Linked DNA regions of Homo sapiens: all the other regions are linked to region 1. Evidence: promoter capture Hi-C in 16 types of primary human blood cells and fetal thymus (Javierre and others, 2016). All regions are on one chromosome and are shown on one strand. Each heading gives the region's core, a stretch centred on a gene start or on the middle of the fragment in contact. The rest is flanking DNA. Distances are from core to core; before and after follow the strand shown.

Region 1 (3,645 bases), core at 238-2,737:
GGAGGCCGAGGCGGGAGGATCACCTGAGGTCAGGAGTTTGAGATCAGCCTGGCCAACACGGTGAAACCCCATCTCTACTAAAAATACAAAAATTAGTCAGGTGTAGTGGTGGGCGCCTGTAATCCCAGCTACTTGGGAGGCTGAGGCAGGAGAATTGCTTGAATCCAGGAGGCGGAGATTGCAATGAGCTGAGATCACGCCACTGCACTCCAGACTGGGCGACACAGAGAGACTCTGTCTCAAAAAAAAAAAAAAAAAAAAAGAAAAGAAAAGCGAAAAGAAAAAGAAATGATACAGGGATCCAGCTGAACATCTTGTCCTCAGTCGGTCACCCTAATACCATTTCATGAACAATCCATCTTTCCCCCATGATTTGAAATGCCGCCTTCATCACATATCAGATTTGGGTCTATAGCTGGACTCTCTTGTTTCTTAGTGATCTATTTGTACTAGTACCACACTTTCATAGAAAAACCATCAATACTTTAGCATAACATCTCTTAGCTGTTTATTTTTATGTATAAACTTTAGCATCAGCTTAATATTTAAACTAAAACAATCTGAACTTTCACATTAGAATGTTGAGTTAAAATACTGATTTTCATTTGAATCACTGTTTACTGAATTCATAGAAAATTGATTAAAATTATTCATGCCTTTCACTCCACAATATTTCAGTACTGAATCTATTTCATAACATGAAATAGCAAGTCTTCCCCTTTATTTGAGTCTTATACACACACACACACACACACACACAAATGGTGCTAGTTAAAAAAAGAAAAAAATATAATTGCAAGAAAATTACCCACCCTGTCTAATATAGCCCCTAATGTTGTAGGACAGACACCCTAGTGGCTGGTCTGTTTTGACTCTTCACCAACCGACACATGGGGCAGACAGCTGGCTGTCACGTGCCAGGTGCATCAAAAACAGACTACATGCTTTTGATGTGCAAGTATGATGTCATTCTACTGCCCTATATACCTCTAAGGAAAAAACTGAAGTTACTTGTTATTTTACTCTATGTCAAATACTAACAGGAGAAAGATGTTTCATCCACAAGACTGTGACTTCTCAAACACACAGCTTTACAAGGTGACATTCGGCTTCGGGATGGACTCTCAGATGACCCCAGTGGACGCTGGAAATGAAGGCAATCATGCTGAGGGCCTGGCAGTCACACTTCAGCTAAGAGAAACCCTTCCTTCTACAGTTTTCTTTAAGGAAATGTAGTTTTATTCTCCTATTTAGCAATATATTCCGTGTCCTCCAAACTCTAAGTTACAAGTTTTTTCAAATAAGAACTTGAAAAAGTACCAAAGTTTGGGACACTAGGGACAGACTATCATTGGTACAGCAGCCTCAGCCTGGTTTCCATCAAGGACCGGCTGTGAAATGGAGGGGCTCGGAGGGCCACAGTCAAGAGCCTAGTGAGTTGGAATTCCGTTAACAGCTCTACCTCTCTTCCGCTGTGTAACCTCGGGCTAGAGTTCAGAAGTGAGTGGTCTGGATTCAGAAGACTGCCAGAAGCTAAGTGAGGTACATCACAAAGGAACACAGGACTGTGAGCTAGAACAGGAGAGTGAATGTTCGCTGGGGCCTTCCAGAAGACAGTTCAGTCTTAGCAAACTGGCCAGGAAGGATTTTCATCAAGATGGAGGAAAAACCTGGAGGTGAACTATTCATAGCAAGTGTCCTCAAAAAATTAAAATCCATTTAATTAGGGCAAAAACAAATAATTGTTCTTTGAAAATCACTTGGTCAATAATTTGTAGGTGTGTAGTAACTGTCATACTAGTTGGTTATGTATGTGATCTTAGCTCTCCACCTAAGTTATGAAATCTTTGTGGTTATGTTTGTTTCTATCTCTTTGGTTTTGTTTTTTTTTTTCCTGGAACGCTCTCTTTATCTTGTTTCAACCCAACTCCTGCTGATAACACATTTCTCAAAACCCTACCAACTGGAGATCTTTCCTGCAGCTTCCGTCACGGCCCTCGGACTCAGTCCCTCAGCAGATGGCCTTTTACTGCCCTGGCAGGTCCCTTCCCCTCTTAACTGTAACCAATCACTGGCTTTCTCTCTGAACCCATCCTTCCCATACGTCGATCTCTGCCTTCTTCACTCTCAACTCCCAAATCCCCTTGGTAGTTCCCTAACTACAGACACCTCGTCACGGTAAAACCTATTCAGCTCCTGGGCTGAGGTTTCCATCCTGTGGCGCCTCTCTGTCCTTTCCTTCCACCTTTCCCTCCTCTTCCTTTCTACTGAGCAGCATCTTCATCCTCTTTCTCTTCCCACTCCTTATTTTGCAAAGCTCTTAACTGTCCATCATGGGTAATTAAAATCCCTTCATTAGCACTCACTGCCCCTAGAGTCACCTCCAAGCTTCCTGTGGCTCAATCAGGAGTTTCTTCAGCACAGGTCTCAACTTTGCCTCGTGCTGCATTCCCCATTCTCCCTACCTGCCACTAACCTTCACTCTGAAGCTTCAAACTTCACACATTTCCCCAAACTTTTCTACATCTCTGCTGTTCCTCACACTATACTGTACTCTTATCTGCACACCTCATCTTCCTCAATTTAGCAAAGCCCTACCCCATCAGAAGGGCTCTGGCCTTCCCACAGCCTGCTGGCTGACATCCAGCCGCCTCCTTTCACTTTCTTCATTATTTGCAAATCAGATGGTCAGTCCCACCAGTGAATCACGGGGACAGCTCTGTCTTACCCGGAGAATGTTTCCCCCAAAAGATTCTCCAAATGCCTTGCATAAAGTGGCAAGGACTCAAATATTTTAAATGTGATGTTCTTGATCATTTGTATGAAATATATCTTACTCTTTGTCAGACCTCTAACCTTCATGACATGATCACCAAAAGGAGGAAATCAGATTTGCCTTATGTATACTAAGACTATGTATACTAAGACTTTGCCTTATGTATAAAAAGACTAAATTGAGTCTTTTTGAAAAAATTAACTTGTTGTGGTCGATCACAGAATAAGTGATTTTCAGCATGTGACTACAGAAAAAATGATTTTTGGCCAGGCGCAGCGGTTCACACTTGTAATCCCAACATTTTGGGAGGCTGAGGCAGGAGGATCACTTGAGGTCAGGAGTTTGAGACCAGCCTAGCCAACATGGTGAAACCCCATCTCTATTAAAAATACAAAAAGCCGGGTGTGGTGGCAGGAGCCTATAATCCCAGCTACTTGGGAGGCTGAAGCAGGAGAATCGCTTGAACCTGGAAGGCGGAGGTTGCAGTGAGCCGAGTTCACACCACTACACTCCAGCCTGGGTGACAGAGTGAGACTCTGTCTCAAAAAAAAAAAAAAAAAAAAAAGAGAAAGAAAAAAGAATTTTTAGCATGTGACACTATGAGTACCCTTAAAATAACAGTGTCTGAGTTCTGAAAGTGGATGATACAGACAGGCACAGGAGATGGAGGAATGGGCAAATATGAGAGAAAGCAAGAGCAGTAAAATGGGAATGGTAAAATCTAGAAGGTGGGTATATGATTATTCACTATGAAATTCGTTTAACTCTTCTATGCTTGAAATTTTAACAAACATTGGAAAATGCAACAAACAAAATCGACATATACAATCACTCTCGTCTGAGCTCCATTAGAAGGACACAGAGAAGGG
Region 2 (3,823 bases), core at 1,178-3,677, 210 kb after region 1:
TGAGATGGAGTCTTACTTTTGTCTCCCAGGCTGGAGTGCAGTGGCGTGATCTTGGCTCACGACAACCTCCGCCTCCTAGGTTCAAGCGATTCTCTTGTCTCAGCCTCCCAAGTAGCTGGGACTACAGATACATGCCACCACACCCAACTAATTTTGGAATTTTTAGTAGAGACAGAGTTTCACCATGTTGGCCAGGCTGGTCTCGAACTCCTGACCTCAGGTGATCCGCCCACCCTGGCCTCCCAAAGTGCTGGAATTACAGGCGTGAGCCACTGCGCCCAGCCAGATAATATATTTTTGAAAGTTCCACTATTCTGTTTTTCTATTAGAATTACATGAAATCTTAATTGCCTTAAGACCCCAATTTTATCCCAAATTATCCACAAGAAGAGACAGGGAGTGTCAGATGGCTTGCAAAGGTGAGTGAGGAGGTCTCATAGCACCGGGTAGCACTGGCTCCTGGCTCAGCTGAACTCCACACAGGGACTCACGTCACAGCAGCAGCCTTCCCTCACAGTTGGACATAGAGGGGAGTATAAGGGAGGGGGGCTTTTCTCTGAGGCCCTCAGGTGTCAGCATGAGGTCCCTGGGGGAGTTTGGGTCCTCAATGCCTTAGACGTTGTCTCTGTTACCCTCGTCACCTCCACCTCCCCCTGAGGTCCCTGGCGGAGTTTGGGTCCTCAATGCCTTAGAGGCTGTTTCTGTTACCCTCATCGCCTCTTCCTCCCCCTTCTCGAGCACTGACGATCCCCGGTGGTGCAGAAGCCTGCCTGGCACTGTGCCACAGCAAAAACCCTGGAGCCATCACGGTGCTTTCAGGCGTTACTGGGAGACAGGACATTCACATGAAGACAGAAACTACAGTAGGTGGTCTAGAAAAAGGATGAAATGTGTGAGGGAAATGTTCTGGGTTAGTGGTGATGTCTGCACAACCTTGCGACTATACTAAAAACACGGAATTGTACATTTTTAAAGGGCTAATCTCATGGTATGTGAATTATATCTCAATTTTGAAGAAATATGTGACGGAGCAAGTATTTGAGGAATTCAGAGGAAAGGGGGCCCTCAACGCCTATGAAACGTGTTAGTAATGGGGAGGCAGGAAGGACTTAGACAAGCGGAGAGAGGCAGAGAGGGGCAGAGGGAGACGCGGAGGGTGGGAAGCGCCTGGTGGGTTCTGCCAGGGAGGGAGGAGGCTGAATTGCCAGAGAGGGAGACAGGGAGAAGGGAAAAGAAGAATGGAAACCATTTGGGGCCAGATTATGGAAGCTTTAGATGCTGGTCTGAGGGGCACATGGGGAAGAAAAAGCTGTGGATGATCTGACACCTGGGATCTGACATGGGCCTGGCGATGGCTGGGAAGACACGTGCCTGGGTTGTACGGGATGGGCAGGAACAGGAACATTTGGCAGGAGGAGAGCTCTTCGCAGCAATCCTAACATTTTGGGTTAGATGGTGAAGGTGGCGATAAAGTGAAGAAGAAGGAAAGATTTTGTGGATCCTGTAGAGGAAGAGTGACAGGGCTTGAGGCCCGATTGGATCTACAGAGTAAGGAAATCAAAGGCCTCTCCAGAGTTGTAAGCTTGGGGCTCTCCTGGGGAAGCTTCAACTAAAATAAAGGCCTGTTTGGGAAGAAAGATGTTGAATCCAATCTCAAGCATTTGGGTTTGGGGCAGTGATGGGATATGTAAGTGGGAACATGGAGCCAAGCATACCACAGCGAGCCCAGAAGCGGTCGCATTTGTGGCCAAGGAAAGTAAGGCCCATGGGCTCTGTGACCTGCCTGAGGTTACAGAACTAGCTGCAGGCAAGCTGGAGTCAGATTCCTGGCTAAATCTCCTTTTGTCTAGCAAGCAGCTGGTTCAGCTGTGGGGCTAATCCTTGGGAGGGTGATGGGTGCTGGAGAGTTGAGTCCACAGAAGAGGCAGGAGTAGAAGGCACTGGAGTGGTGAAGTCTCTGCAGGGGAATAGAGGAGACAGCAAAGGCCAAAGGGCAGGGAAACGAGCCTTGCCATGTGTCCTCATTTGTGGGATGTGAGAAGGAAGCAGATTGCAAGCAGATGTCAGCTGGAATAAAGACAGCAGTGTCACTGAGGCCAAAGGGAGAGAGCATTGCCCACAAGCATTAGAGATGCCCAACTGCATGCTTGTCTGCCTCCTGCAATACAGCCAGCTGCACGGATCCAGGGGCATGGGGTGCTCAACCATGTCAGATGCTTCAGGGATGTTAAAGAGAATGCAGCCAGGCCACAGGATTTGCCACTGGAGATCATGGAGAGTGCATTTCAGAAGCATGCAGTGAAGGGAAGCTGACAGAGAGTGGGAAGTGAGGAAATGGAAGACCGGAGGGCAAGCCACTCTTGAGACATTTGGCAATGAGAAGAATGAGCGCTTAAAGATGAACAGAGAGACAAGCCAATGAGAGGAATGAGTGCTTAAAGATGAACAGAGAGACAAGCCAATGAGAGGAATGAGTGCTTGAAGATGAACAGAGAGACAAGCCAATGAGAGGAACGAGTGCTTGAAGATGAACAGAGAGACAAGCCAATGAGAGGAATGAGCACTTAAAGATGAATAGAGAGACAAGGAAGATGAGTTTTTTTTGTTGTTTTCAAAGTAGCAGTATGGTATGGTGGCCTACGGAAACAACTGGTGGGAAGAAACTGAAGATGCAAGAGATCATAAAAGAACTGGGTCCTGGGTCATGGAGGAGAGAAGGAGCTGAGTTCTGGGTCATAGAGGAGAGAAGGGGGTGGGTCCTGGGTCATGGAGGAGAGAAGGGTCTGGGTCCTGGGTCATGGAGGAGAGAAGGGGCTGGGTCCCGGGGTCATGGAGTAGAGAAGAGGCTGAATCCCAGGGTCATGGAGGAGAGAAGGGGCTGGGTCCCGTGTCATGGAGGAGAGAAGGGGCTGGGTCCCGTGTCATGGAGGAGAGAAGGGGCTGGGTCCTGGGTCACGGAGGAGAGAAGGGGCTGGGTCCTGGGTCATGCAGGAGATGGGGTCAAGCCTACTTTAGCAGGTAGGAATGCTCTCTAAAGGGAGAGAACAGTAGATGGATGAGGCAGAACTTTTTAGTGGGGAAGAGAAGGATGACAGAGCTCTAGCTGGAGGGTGTCACTCTTGCACTAATGGAGGAGATGGAATTTTCTATTGTGATTATCTAGTGAATGCTCATTTTCCCCTTCTTCCTGACCAACAGACCTCCAATATTATTTGGAGCAGGAATGTGCCCAGCTAAAACACCAAGCTTCCCACCCTCCTTTTTAGCCAGCAGTGGTTATGTGACTTAATTTCAATCATGGAAAAATCATAGATTGGGGTTTCTGGGAATGCTCTTTAAAGGGAGCAGTCATAAGTGTCTGTACCCATTTTGCTCCTCCCCGTTTCTCCTTCTTTCAGCTTACAATGCCACACAGACCTCCAGAATAGGTGGAGGGAACCAGGAGGAAAAGAAATTCATTTGAAAGTCTCTCTCTTTTGGAAAAGAATATGCTAGACTCATATGTACAGCTCATACGTACTTAATAGAAAACCTAAGGATATGGCTTTGATGGCTGGCACTGTAGCAGCTGTATTGTGACCATGAAGTGACCTTGAGGATGAGAGCCAGTGCTAAGAATGGCAGAACAGAGAGAAGGAAGCCAGGACATTGATGACACTGCAGAGCCACCACAATGTCCCGGGATTGCCTTACCTCTGCACTTGTTTTGCATACAGAAAAGACATTTCTTTTCCTAAGCTGCTGTGATTTGGGGATTTTGTTATGAGTAGCCAAGCACAGTTCCTCTCTGGTGAGGCTGGTGTGTGTGTGCCCACGCACGTGT
Region 3 (3,587 bases), core at 588-3,087, 230 kb after region 1:
ATGGGACTCCAAGCTAATTAGACTTTTAAATTTATCCATCTATGAGCAACTTACTTTGTAATTGGTAATGATTTCCATGTAATCATATGTGTGCTTGGGGATTCTGATGAAGTAAGAAAAACCCAACCTACAAATCATTTCTAAACTGTCATAAAATTTTCATGAGTGCTAAATTTAACAATTAATGAAGTTAACACATTCATGTGTCTCATAGACATTACACATTTATCAATTTTGATTTTGCAGTTTTCTTTTCATGTTTTAGAGCTTGTAATTTTTTTCCAGGTCTTAAAATTTTTTATAGTTCCTGGAAAAGTGCATAGGCACTTGCCTACAGTGTCTGATGGCTTGAATGTCCATGACATCTGTCTCTGGGTTCACAGATTAATTTCATCCCACCATGGCCATAACTTCAAGGAACCATGACATGTCACTACATCAAAGAGAACTCCTTCCCTCTAGCTCCTAGTTTTACATCCAGGGTGGAGGTCTTTGGAGATGTGGCAAAATTGGAGGACGGAAGGAATGAGGAAAAGAAGTTGGAACAAATTAATATTTGTTATGAGCCTCCTGTGTGCGAGCCCCTGTGAGGGGAATTTGCACATACATTCAACTGAACGTTTAAAAACCACCTCCAGGCTGGGCGCGGGGGCTCACGCCTGTAATCCCAGCACTTTGGGAGGCCAGGGCGAGCGGATTACTTGAGGTCAGGAGGTCAAGACCAGCCTGACCAACATGGTGAAACCCTGTCTGTACTAAAAATACAAAAATTAGCCAGGCATGATGGCGCGCACCTGTAATCCCAGCCATGTGGGGGTCTGAGGCAGGAGAATCGCTTGAACCCGGGAGGTCAAGAGTGCAGTGAGCAGAGATCGTGCTACCGCACTACAGCCTGGGCGACAGAGTGAGACTCTGTCTCAAAAAAATAATAAAATAAAATAAAGGGGTAAGTTAGAAAATGTATGTCTCAGTGCTCTGTAAATTGCAAAGCTCTATATAAATATAATTCTCTGTCTTTATTAATTTGCAATCTGGTGTGCCATGTCTGGGGACAATAACTCTTCCATTACTCCATGCACAAAGTTCTGATTTGGGGTCCTGGCTTATGCTTTTCCAAGATTATCAAAAATTAGCCAGGCATGGTGGTGCATGCCTGCAGTCCAGCTACCTGGGAGGCTGAGGCAGGAGAATTGCTTGAGCCCAGGAGGCAGATGTGGCAGTGAGCTAAGATTGCACCACTGCACTCCAGCCTGGGCGACACAGCGAGACTCCGTCTCAAAAAAATAAAACAAAAAAAGCTCCTCCAGTTTATTAGGTCATAAACTGGTAATGGCAAGAGGAAATAGAATCTCAGTCAATCCTCACTACAGGCCAGGGAGGTGAACCTCAGTATAACTTTCTTCATTTTACAGTTGAGGAATTTAAGGCTCTTGGGATTAAGTGACTTGCCCAAGATCACCCAGCCCCAAAGTGTCAGGGCCAGCAAAGGTCAGAGGCAGCCCAGGTGCTCTGACCCCACAGCTGTTCTCTGCCACTCCCCACTGCATAAGCTATTTGCAAAGCTTTTCCTTCCATCATCTTTCAGGATTATCTTATTCTGTTGTTCTTACTGGTGTCCAATTAGACCAAGAAGAAACTTCCCTTGAATTGGTGGGGACACAGCTGGCAGAGGTGGGCACAGAGAAAGGAAAATATAATGAATGCTGATTTCAAAAAATAATCTTCCAGCATGTAAGATGAAATTGGATTAGTATCTCAGATGACAAACATGAGTAAGTCTTACAGGTTTTTTACAGGCTAGCTGACAAAACAGATTCACGTCTCCACTGTTTCCAAGTGACTTTCTACCAACCAGACCATTTCTCCAACAACACAGGAAGCAAACCTTCCCTGAGTGTTCCATCCAGCTACCTGTTGGGCTGCTCCCCACCACCCCCAGGTATCCATGGGCACCCACATTCCACATGCCTAAGTCAACTTCCCCCAACTTGCACCCCCTCTTGAAACACCAGGACGTTTCGCCCCACACATGCCTGTGCTTTGTTGGCTTGAAACATCCCTTCCACCTTTGGGTGGCGAATTCTCAGATGTCGTCTCCTCCAGGAAGCTTTGCCTGAAACCTAAGTGCTCTTTGTCAAAGCTCCCCTGCCCCTCCCCCAACAGTCTGTCACATTCTAGCACATTCCGTTCAAATCCTCCATATACCCATTTCTCTGAATAGACCATGTATTACTTGAATGAAACTGACCTAAGGTTTTTCAAGATAAAAGAAACTTATTTGTGCCAAAGCAAATAATGGCTCAAAATCATTCCATTTAACCGAAACTTTTGGAGAGAACAAGAGAGTTTGAAGGCTGTGTCGATGGTTCTCAATAGTGGCTGCCAATTAAAGTCATCTCCAGGCCCATAGCACTGCCAAGGCCTGGCTGCCCACCCTAGGATTCTGACTTAACTGGATGCAGAGATCAGTATTGTGATTCTAATGAGTGTCCTGGGCTGAGGAGCGACAGATTGTAATAAATTATCCCTCAGCTCCTAGACATAGGGCCAGGTCTGAAGAGGGTCAGCTGGTTCCAGCTTGAGGGCTTTTCAGATGGAAATATGACATGTAATAGAAACCATCCGGGGCCAGGCGCAGTGGTTCATGCCTGTAATCCCAGCACTTTGGAAGGCCAAGGCAGGTGGATCTCCTGAGGTCAGGAGTTTGAGACCAGCCTGGCCAACATGGTGAAATGCCATCTCTACTAAAAATACAAAAATTAGCCTGACGTGGTGGTGCACACCTGCAATCCCAGCTGTTTGGGAGGCTGAGACAGGAGAATCGCTTGAACTCGGGAGGTGGAGGTTGCAGTGAGCCGAGACTGTGCCACTGCACTCCAGCCTGGGCGAAAAGAGTGAGACTCCGTCTAAAAAGAAAAAAAAAAAAAAAAGAAAAAAAGAAAGTAAGAAAGTACATGGGCCTGGCATCTCTAGCTGTGTGACTGTGAGCGAGTTACTCAACATATCCAAGTCTCAGTTTCATCCTTTGTAAAAGGAGGCTATCTTGCAGGTTGCTGTGGGGATTAAGTGAGGCAACTCTTGCAATGATAGTATCAATATTAGCAACGCTCTGTCCATTCTAAAGCGCTAAACCTCAGCAGAGACCCACCTATCCACAGCATGGTTCTAGAGCAAATAAACTTGGTGCCGTTCTTAGAATGGCTTGAAGTTCAGCTTGCGATTCTGACTAATTCAGCACTAACGGATTTGTGTATTTGTTTTCCCATCTGTCTAATTGGGGATTGGAACGCAAGAACTTTTTTATTGATTTTGAGCTCTAACTATATCCAAAACAGGAAATAAGTAGAAAGGAAGACGACGGATTGCTTGGCAACTTGCCAGACCACTTGCTCTTAGCGACGGTGCTGCAGGCTTTCCAAGGCGCAGAGGGTGGGTGCCCTGGATGTCTATCACTGCATCAGAGACCGGAAAACCGTTAGGGCTTCGGGACCCTTTCGGCCAGGCACTGCTGGTCATGATGTGCTGGCTTAGTCTGTGATGGTCTTTGTTGCCTGGGATGTCTGTTATTAGCAGCTGAAGCAAATCAA

What was found. The method cuts DNA at HindIII sites, captures the fragments that hold promoters and counts their contacts. A CHiCAGO score of 5 or more calls a contact.
Region 2: a contact is called between a fragment that was not itself captured here and the fragment with the promoter of SNX9-AS1 in region 1, in 1 of 17 cell types (activated CD4 T cells). The highest score is 6.0, in activated CD4 T cells.
Region 3: a contact is called between a fragment that was not itself captured here and the fragment with the promoter of SNX9-AS1 in region 1, in 1 of 17 cell types (activated CD4 T cells). The highest score is 5.9, in activated CD4 T cells.

The regions. Positions count from the first base shown.
Region 1 is chr6:157,890,724-157,894,368 of GRCh38, reverse strand. SNX9-AS1 (SNX9 antisense RNA 1) reads left to right here and starts at 1,487. Exons shown (of 2, transcript NR_183542.1): 1 at 1,487-1,676. All of the region lies in intron 4 of SNX9 (sorting nexin 9), which reads right to left. The HindIII fragment of the contact is 5,913 bases long and covers 1-2,390 here.
Region 2 is chr6:157,678,406-157,682,228 of GRCh38, reverse strand. No RefSeq gene overlaps it. Among named protein-coding and RNA genes, the nearest start is that of SNX9, 140 kb to the left of the region's middle. The HindIII fragment of the contact is 1,643 bases long and covers 1,606-3,248 here.
Region 3 is chr6:157,659,532-157,663,118 of GRCh38, reverse strand. All of the region lies in intron 8 of ZDHHC14 (zDHHC palmitoyltransferase 14), which reads right to left. Among named protein-coding and RNA genes, the nearest start is that of MIR3692, 130 kb to the right of the region's middle. The HindIII fragment of the contact is 545 bases long and covers 1,565-2,109 here.